Linked DNA regions of Homo sapiens: region 1 is linked to region 2. The links are contacts of gene promoters, found by promoter capture Hi-C in blood cells and fetal thymus (Javierre and others, 2016). All regions are on one chromosome and are shown on one strand. Each heading gives the region's core, a stretch centred on a gene start or on the middle of the fragment in contact. The rest is flanking DNA. Distances are from core to core; before and after follow the strand shown.

What was found. Contacts are between HindIII fragments. The CHiCAGO score rates a contact against its expected background, and 5 or more counts as called.
Region 1: a fragment that was not itself captured here is called in contact with the fragment with the promoter of PCNX4-DT in region 2 in 1 of 17 cell types (naive B cells); the score reaches 5.7 in naive B cells.

The regions. Positions count from the first base shown.
Region 1 is chr14:58,634,675-58,639,002 of GRCh38, reverse strand. It overlaps DACT1 (dishevelled binding antagonist of beta catenin 1), which reads right to left and starts at 1,041. Exons shown (of 4, transcript NM_001079520.2): 1 at 456-1,041. The coding sequence starts at 800. RefSeq lists a silencer at 541-1,250. The HindIII fragment of the contact is 545 bases long and covers 2,567-3,111 here.
Region 2 is chr14:60,089,291-60,093,303 of GRCh38, reverse strand. PCNX4-DT (PCNX4 divergent transcript) reads left to right here and starts at 1,558. Exons shown (of 5, transcript XR_943918.4): 1 at 1,558-1,601. PCNX4 (pecanex 4) reads right to left here and starts at 1,381. Exons shown (of 11, transcript NM_001330177.2): 1 at 885-1,381. RefSeq lists enhancers at 554-1,187, 1,151-1,340, 1,431-1,560. The HindIII fragment of the contact is 2,213 bases long and covers 107-2,319 here.

The DNA.
Region 1 (4,328 bases), core at 1,590-4,089, 1.5 Mb after region 2:
CACGCCACAAACCCCCTCCTTGGCTTTTGGCCCCTCTCGGCGGGAGGAGATAAAGTCAAGAAAACCTCCAAATAAAATGGTATTTTAAGTGGGAGTTTGCAAACCGCTGGGGAGAGGGCATATACTCATCTAACTAAGGAGACCGAACGTTAGAACTAGGCGACTCCAAGAATCCCGAAGGCAGAGGAGGAGGGAAGAGCGGCCACCCCCTTCCCGCAATCCGCGCGAGGTCGCCAGACACAAAGCGGGCACACGCCAGAAACGCGTGGGCGTCGGCAGCCCACACGCCGCGGGCACTCAGGAAGGGGATCAGGGAGGTATGGGGCGGTCGGGGGCGTCCCATAACAGCGAGCATCTCCCCAGCCAGAGTCAACCTCGCGCCCGCCCCAGGCCACCTGCCCGACCTCCAGCCCCTGGGCAGGAACAGCCGTGCTCCACCTTCGGGCACGACCTACCAATTGCTTTCTTAGCAGCAAGATGTTCTCCTCCAAGAACTTCTCCTCCAGGCGACTGCGCTGCGCCGCCTCCCCCAGTAGCTCCCCAGCGCGGGGCGCAGCGGCTCCCGCACCCCCGGCGCCGCGCAGGGCGCCCCTGACCAGCAGCTCTTGGCGCTGGCGCAGGTACTCCAGCTCCGCCAGCCCGGCCAGCGTGGCCTCCTGCCGCTCCCGGGTGCGCTGCCGCTCGGTGTCTGCCTCGCCCTTCTCCCGCCAGCGCCCCTCGGGCTCCGCCGTGCGCTGCTCGCCTCGGGCCGGCGCCGGAGGCTCCAGCTCCTTCGCCGTCCCGGCCGGACTCGGCTTCATGGCCCCCAGTCGGGCAGCGAGAGCCGTCACCGCAGCCGGGCCGCCCAGGCGGAGGAGCAGGGCGCTAGGGCTGCGGCCGCGGGTGGGCTCATGCCGCCCTGTGGCGGGGCGCGGCGCTGGCGGGGACGGTGGCTAGAAGCCCTCGAGTCCTGCGCGCGACCGCCGGCTGCTGCTGTCCCGGCCCGGGCAGCGCCGTCCGCTGTCGCCGCGCGTCCCTCGCCGCGGCCCGGCAGCTGATAACGCCCTGCCCGGCGCTACGTCACGCGCGGCGGCCCTGCAAACCCCCGCCTGGCGCCCGCCTCCCCGCGCCGGCCCCTCGGCTGCGACGCTTGCGCCCCCAGGCTTCCCCTCCTCTGTCAGGCGCGCCGCCCGGCCCCCAGAGCCGCCTCCTCCTCGCTCGGCCCTCCCCGCCCCTCCTCGCCCCTCCCCGCCTCCTCCCCCGCTCTCTTCGCGGGCCTCCTCGCCCCCTTTTCGGGTTTACTGCACCCGATTTTGCCCTCGCTCCTCATTGGCTCTTTCTCGTCGCCCAAAGCTCGGGGCGAGCGCCTGGAGCCCCAGCATCCTGTTACAGTCGGCCGCGCAGGCAGGGGCCGCGACGGGACGCGGCAGTTGGGCTCTCCGGAGAACTTTCTGAAACTCGACCAAGTTGCAGCACAGTCTTAACCCTTTCCCCACACGGCCACTCCTCATTTCCACTCACACCGAGTTAGGTTTCTTTCACTTCCCAAGCAAGGTATTGCAAGTGTATTCACAGACACTGTGGGGTTGGTTCCTTAACTCCACTTTGTAAAGGCAAGCAATACAGAGCACAATGCAGTGTTCTAAAACTTAAGTTTTGTTGTCGTTTTAATTTTTTAACGTCGGTCTTACGATGGACGGCATTTAAAATTAGGCAGGAGGATGTCGTTGTATAGCGAGAGGTTGCATCAATTCTTTTACAAGCCTACGATTTGAGTGCGCGCGCGTGCGCGCTTTGGTTTTTGTTTGAGCTTTTATTATTACTTAGTCTGCGTTTACAATAAGAGCTCTGACTCAGAAATCAGACTGTCTGGATTTGTATCCCAGTTTCACCCCTAAATAGCTGTGCGGGCAACTTACTCCCTTCTCTGTGTACGTTCCCCCCACTGTAAAAGGGAGCAGCTGCTATGGGAACCTGCTGTTGAAGAATTATAATAGTATGCAGCATATGCTATATATTGTGGGGGCTGTGCACTTACAACGTGGCTAGCACATAGATAGTAAAGGTGATATGAGTTGTAGCTTTTCTCCAGAGGGATTTATAAGTCTTCCCTCTTGAAGTATCATGTATTGGTCATCTCTGCTTGGAACACACTACTCCAGACCCCTATCCCACTGAAATTTCCGGTGGGATAGGGGTCTGAAAATTCCACTAGCTGGCTTATCTGTGGAAAAGTACCACATATATCTTTAAAAGCAGTACATCCAAGAACCTCGGAAATTCAATCCAGCAAGTCACAATTGCTGAAGTTCAGGCAAAGTGTTGTGTGAAAGAGTGCATCCTATATCATTATTTCAGACACTTGCACTTTTGCCCATCTGCTTACCCGTGCTAGGAATTCCTCTTCTTTCCTCCCCTCTCTGTGTGGTCTAACCACCCTTCCAACCTTTGAGCTCCAGTTAACTATATAAATATCTGATTCTGATCCCATGCTACCTGTATGGTTATTTATCTGGGTGTGCACACGCATATCTATCTACGTAGGTGTTTATGTGTATCTCTTCTCTCCATCTACATTATGAAAGCTTCCTGAAGGCAGGGACTGTTTTAATACCCTCTTAGTATCGCTGTATTCAGCACATTACCTTGCAAGCATTCACCTGACAATTGCTAGAGAGAGACTCGAGAATGTAGATTGGTTGTAAATTGTTTTTTCATTAGCATACTTTTAAACTTAATAGTACCCATTTAATCTCTACTACAAATAGAATTAAGTTGACATTTACCAAAAAACAAAAACAAAAGAACTCCCTTGCCACCTTTCACTTTCCTCCCCATTGCTGCCTCCCACAGACATGAAAGAACTACAAACTTGATTCATAATTAACAAGGTTGTATATTAGCTCTAAAAATGGAATTATGGTCAGGTGTTCATAAGCATACAAAATCGATTCTCTTCAGGTTATCTATTCTTTATGCCTGCTGTTGCCAAACACTACTTTATAATATAGGAACTAATTTTCCTCCCTAATTTTAGTAAGGCACGAAAGGATAGTGACTTATCCTGCTTGCCAAATGCCACTCACCCATGTCCTCTGTCATTGTTTCATTCTGCTCATTTCTAAACAAGCTTCTTGCTTTCCAGCTCTGAATTAGATTCCTCTGACTGGGTGGAGTCTATTATTGTGGCCTGTGTTATGTCACACATCGACAACTATATTTGTATAGTTGAGGGGGAAAAAAAGCTGAAACACATTTTTACACACTACTAATAAATCTTAAGTCAGGCAGACAAGCTCGCTATGTCTCCAAACCTCCCCACCCTCCCAACCCCCCTCCTCACCAAATGCCACTTTGAGCTGGCTCATTAGTCCAAAGCAAGCCATTTGCCGTAACAGCTTGTATATCTCCATGAAAAAGTGTTCTCAGCAAGTTTAAATATTAAAACTAATATATTCAGATGGTTCCGCCAATAAAATGGTCACGAATAGGAAAAAAGGTTATGCTTTCCAAAGTATCCATTACACATTAATAAATAATGCTGTTCATTCACATGCCAATTAAAACAAACTCAGGCTGTCAAATGAAGTTAGAAGCAAGGAGCTCAATGCTGTAATTGTTTTTCCAGGAAAACTCCCAATGTCATCAGATTAAGTGAGACAGGCTGGGTTGCCCCTATTCTCTTTTTAAGCTAGCAGCCAAATTTTCTCCCCTCCAGTCTAGTTGCCTGGATTTTCTTTCCTCTTTGATTCTTTGTTTTTGTTGCAGGTATTCCGGAAGCAGTTGAAAGTGATCGCCTACTGCTCCCTTCTGTTGCCAACGGAATCTCACTTCCCCCTACTGTTTTGATTTTTCTTTCCCTTTCTTTTTAAAGCAGGTGCTGGTACTTCTTCCTCCACTAGTGCTATTTCATTATCTCCTTTCTAATGTTGTTCAGCCCTAGTTGGTTCTTTTGCTTTCCCTGGACACGCCTGTCTGCTCAGAAAAACTGTTAATTGACACTCAGAAAGTGTACCACTAACGATGGGGTGGACCTGCTGCCTGGATGATCTGGAGAGTAAGATAAAGTTGCCAGCATGAAAAAGAGTCTTGGCTGAATATATTACAGTGGTGTTAACTTATGCTTGAAGATCTTTCCTGGGCAGAGCCAGAACATGTCCCTCATATCACACAGTCTGATGCTTTGTCCTTAGGCAGAACAGCTCCTAACAGCACCCCCACCAAAGTCTGAGCATCATTCTACAAATGCCTTGTCCAGCGGTGAACATTCTATTGCAGCCAAGCAAAGTAAGGGGCATCAGTTGCACATTTTGCCATCAAGCAAAGCAACAAAATGATGCCTTGCAGCT
Region 2 (4,013 bases), core at 309-2,808:
AAATGTTCCAAACTTGACTGTGGTAAGGGTTGCACAATTCTATAAATGGGTGAATTGTATTGAATGTAAATTACATCTCAATAAAGCTCTTAAAAAAGAAAAAGCTTCCCTGATTGGTATTTTCCACAGCAGTTAATAATTAGAAGGCAGCTCTTTAAGTAGGAAATTTAGGAGCAGCCAACAGATGCTACAAACAGTTAAATTCGTGAAAAGGCAACATCTGAACTGGATGCTATGCTAAAGGTCTGGGGATTTGGCGTGAGTGGCGGTGGATACCAAATAACATGAAGGGCAGTCTTTGCCCTAACTGCAGGAATGATTTAATGAAGAAAACAAACACCTAAAAATAGTAAAAAATGAGTAAGTGAAAAATGATGGATACAGAGCAGATAACCAATTCAGCGGCATGGAAAACAACTTCCGATTCACTGGAGTAAATTCTGGTCCTGGAGAGACAAGAGGTTGTGGGGACAGAGGTCGAGATCAGTGGGGAAGGAGCGCTTCACGTTCAGGGGGCCATGAGTTGAACAATTCGGACAAAAGAGGTTTAGTTGGAGATATTGCGAGAGTACAGTTCTACCTAACGGACACAGCTCCGGGTGGGTGTGCCATATTCCATTTCGTACGAGTCTCTTAGAAACAAAATGCTACAATTCAACAGGCTAAAGTAGTCTTTCAAAGGAAAGTTAAAATCACACTGAATTACTATCTCTAATGACTGAGTTCATTAAGCGCAATAATTGCACTTAAAGGTTTTGCAACGAAAAACGAAAAATATGTTTCTTGTGGCAATGAAAGCCCCTAGAACAACTTGGCTCTCCGCACAGGCTTGGACATTAAGATGCCGAAGAAGTCCCGAGGTGGACGTCGGACAACGAACGTACCTCAAGTCACCCGAGGGAAGAGAAGACGCGAAGGCATCCCAGGGACCGCATTTTTGCAGGTAAACTCGGGCTGGGCGCTCCCGCCGGGAGGTTGGTTAGTGCCCGAATGCGGAGGCAGAAAAGCTGCGGCGGCCGAATAACGAGCTCACCGCGGCCCCGCCCGGGCCAGCTCTCGGTTTCCATGGCTAACGTCTACTCCGGCGGCCGCCACCCGGAGCTGAACGGAGCGCGTGCGCGTTCGGGGACCTCGTCGGCGCCTGGCTGGCCTCGCTGCCCCGGTCTGTGCTCGCTCCCGAGGCGGGCCCTGCCGTAAAGCAGGCTTGGCCTAGAGGAAGCAGGGAAATAGCGCGCTTCGTTCGCGCCAGGACTAGGCCAACATCTGCCTGGCCGGGGACGACGGGAGTCGCTCGTGCTCTGGTCTCGCACTGGGCCTAGCAGAAGCAGCAGCGGGGAAAGCCGAGACGCCCTGAACGTTCCCTTGGGCCGGGCCTTTACGCAAGAGCGTCGTTGCCCTGGTGACGTGACGTCCTTCCTCAGGATTGTGCGCCGGGGTGGGGAAACAGACGTGCAACCGCCATTTTGCGCATTAATTTACCAGAGGTCGGGTCAGGCTGTCTTAACGCAGGCAGAGGGGTGTGGCAGATCTCCAACCGCTCGGGGTCCCGTGATTTCCATTAATGAATTCGCACACTGGCGTTACCACTCAACACACCGACGGTAATGAATGTTTTTGAGTGATACTTCATGCAGCCTATTCGGCTTGGACGATTGGGGACTGCATAACGTGATCGCTATCGCCTCAGTTTGTGGCTGCGTTTTAAAATACAAGGAACCAACATGTCCATTATAGAAACGTGTTATTAAGATATTAATAAAACAAGGCAGAGTTCCGGCGTTCCAATTAAAAGGCCATGGCTGATTCATATTAGTGTGGCGGGAATCTTTACAGCCTGGCCGCAAAGACCCCAATTAACGCTAGTTAAAAAGTTATCCCTATACCCAGGGCTCACCTCCCCCATTCTCCACGAAATATGATCCCCCCCCCGCCCCACCAAGTTCTGGACACGTTCCAGATTGCCAACTGGGAGTCCTCAAGACGGCCCCGGAGAGCGTTAACAATGATTGGTCTCAGCTGATTTAGAGGCTCGGGTAAGGGAACTTTGAAGCTAACTTGTCGGTATCAAGGTACCCGCAATTCCCCCATGTGATTGGGTAGATGCCCTAGCAGTTCTGCACACTTCAGCGTCCAAGATGACTTGTGGACTGTTTTGTTTGGATCTCCATTCCTCAAAACTATAAATGCGGCCTTAATTTTTTTTTTTTTTTAATTCTTGGCTCTTGGCTGTCTTGGAAATGCTGACTTTGTATTTAAGTATTTAGGTTTTCAGGTCGTAATAGAAAAATAATTACTGTGTTCATATTAAAAGCCAAAGCTTTATTTATTTATTTTTAAGATATTGTGTCCAGAGCAAAAGTGTAGTGTGTTGAAAGCATGTGGAAGAAAACCCCGGATATACATATACTTGTCTTCAAGGACTTAATTTGCAGGTAGACCCTTTCATAGTTTGGTATCTTCACGATTTGATAGAATATGGGAAAACGTGCTGTTGGTCCATCCATAGTTTTTCTCATTGAAGCTCACTCATTGCGGGTCAGAGTACCACATTAAGCATCTCGGAAGCATCACTTACCGCCAAGAAGTCTGAGTTTCATGTAATTAAGAGTGGAGGCTCCAGAGTCAGGAAGTCTGGGTTGAAACCCTGGCACTACTGCTTACTACTTGTGAGATCTTGAGGTTATGTAATTTCTCTAGTGCTCAGTTTCCCCATATCTTGTAAAATAAGGCAAATAATAGAACTTAACCCGCAGAGAGTTATGTCATTGGATTAAATCAAATAATTGTAAATTGCTTAGCAGAGTAAATGGCACAGCTTAAGTGCTTAGTAAGGATGAGCTATTATCTTTATGTAGAGAGTCTGTATTTATGCTTGTTCTTCTCATGGGCATTACATATGACCCAAGCAGAATTAACATGTTTATTGTTGAAATATCTGCTGTTTTTCAAATATATTTGAACATCGTGCTTTCTTAGAATAAAATTAGTAGGGCATATGGTACAAGCCCTTTGGTTAGCTGTGTATAAAATATTCATTCAACATTTATTGAAATAGTGAAGGGAATAGTGGTTCCTATTTGTCAGGAACTACACTAATTGCTGCAGATATAAAGTCAAATAAAACATGATCCTTAAGGAATTTACCAAAATATAACTTGGACATCAAGGACATAACTTGAACAACAAGGACATCAGTAATTACAGTGTATGTGATAAACAGGTATGCGCTGAGCTTCAGAAACAAAGTGGGACACATAATTCTGGGGAAATTAAGGATGGTTGCAATCCATTTTTAAAGGGTGAGTGGACAGCTGGGCCAGGCGTGGTGGCTCTTGCCTGCAATCCTAGCACTTTGGGAGGCTGAGGTAGGAGGATCGCTTGAGCCTAGGAGTTTGAGGCAACATGGTGAAACCCTGTCTCTACAAAAGATACAAAAAATTAGCCAGGTGTGGTTGTGTGCGCCTGTGGTCCCAGCTACTCAGAGGCTGAGGTAAGAGGTTGTTGCAGTGAGCCGAAATTGCACCACTGCACTCCAGCCTGGACAACAGAGTGAGATCTTGTCTCAAAAAAAAAAAAACAAAACAAAAACAAAAACAGAGTTAGCTGGGAGAAGAGGTATTCCAGGTAGGGGAACATTTATTCTTTAATTCATTCAACACATACTTAGAGCATACATAGAATCAGTACTTTGTGTACCTCATTTAATCTTAACCTTATGAGGTAGCTTATTATTATTTCAAATGTAAGGAATCTGAGCTTGAGAAAAGTAAAATAAGTGATGACATCTGGAGTTGAGTCCGTATCTGTATGTCTTCAAGATTCGTGTATTTTTTCCTACCCTGCTGATTCACATAAAATGAAACAAATTGTGAAAAATCTGGAACTGCTGCTTCAGCCAGAGAAGATGTTTAGCCAGGCATTATCATGACATACGTGTTATTGTGTAATGGTAATGCCCGTTTTCAGTTCATACCCAAGTTAACTTCTCTTGCTAAAAAGTAAAACAAAAGCAA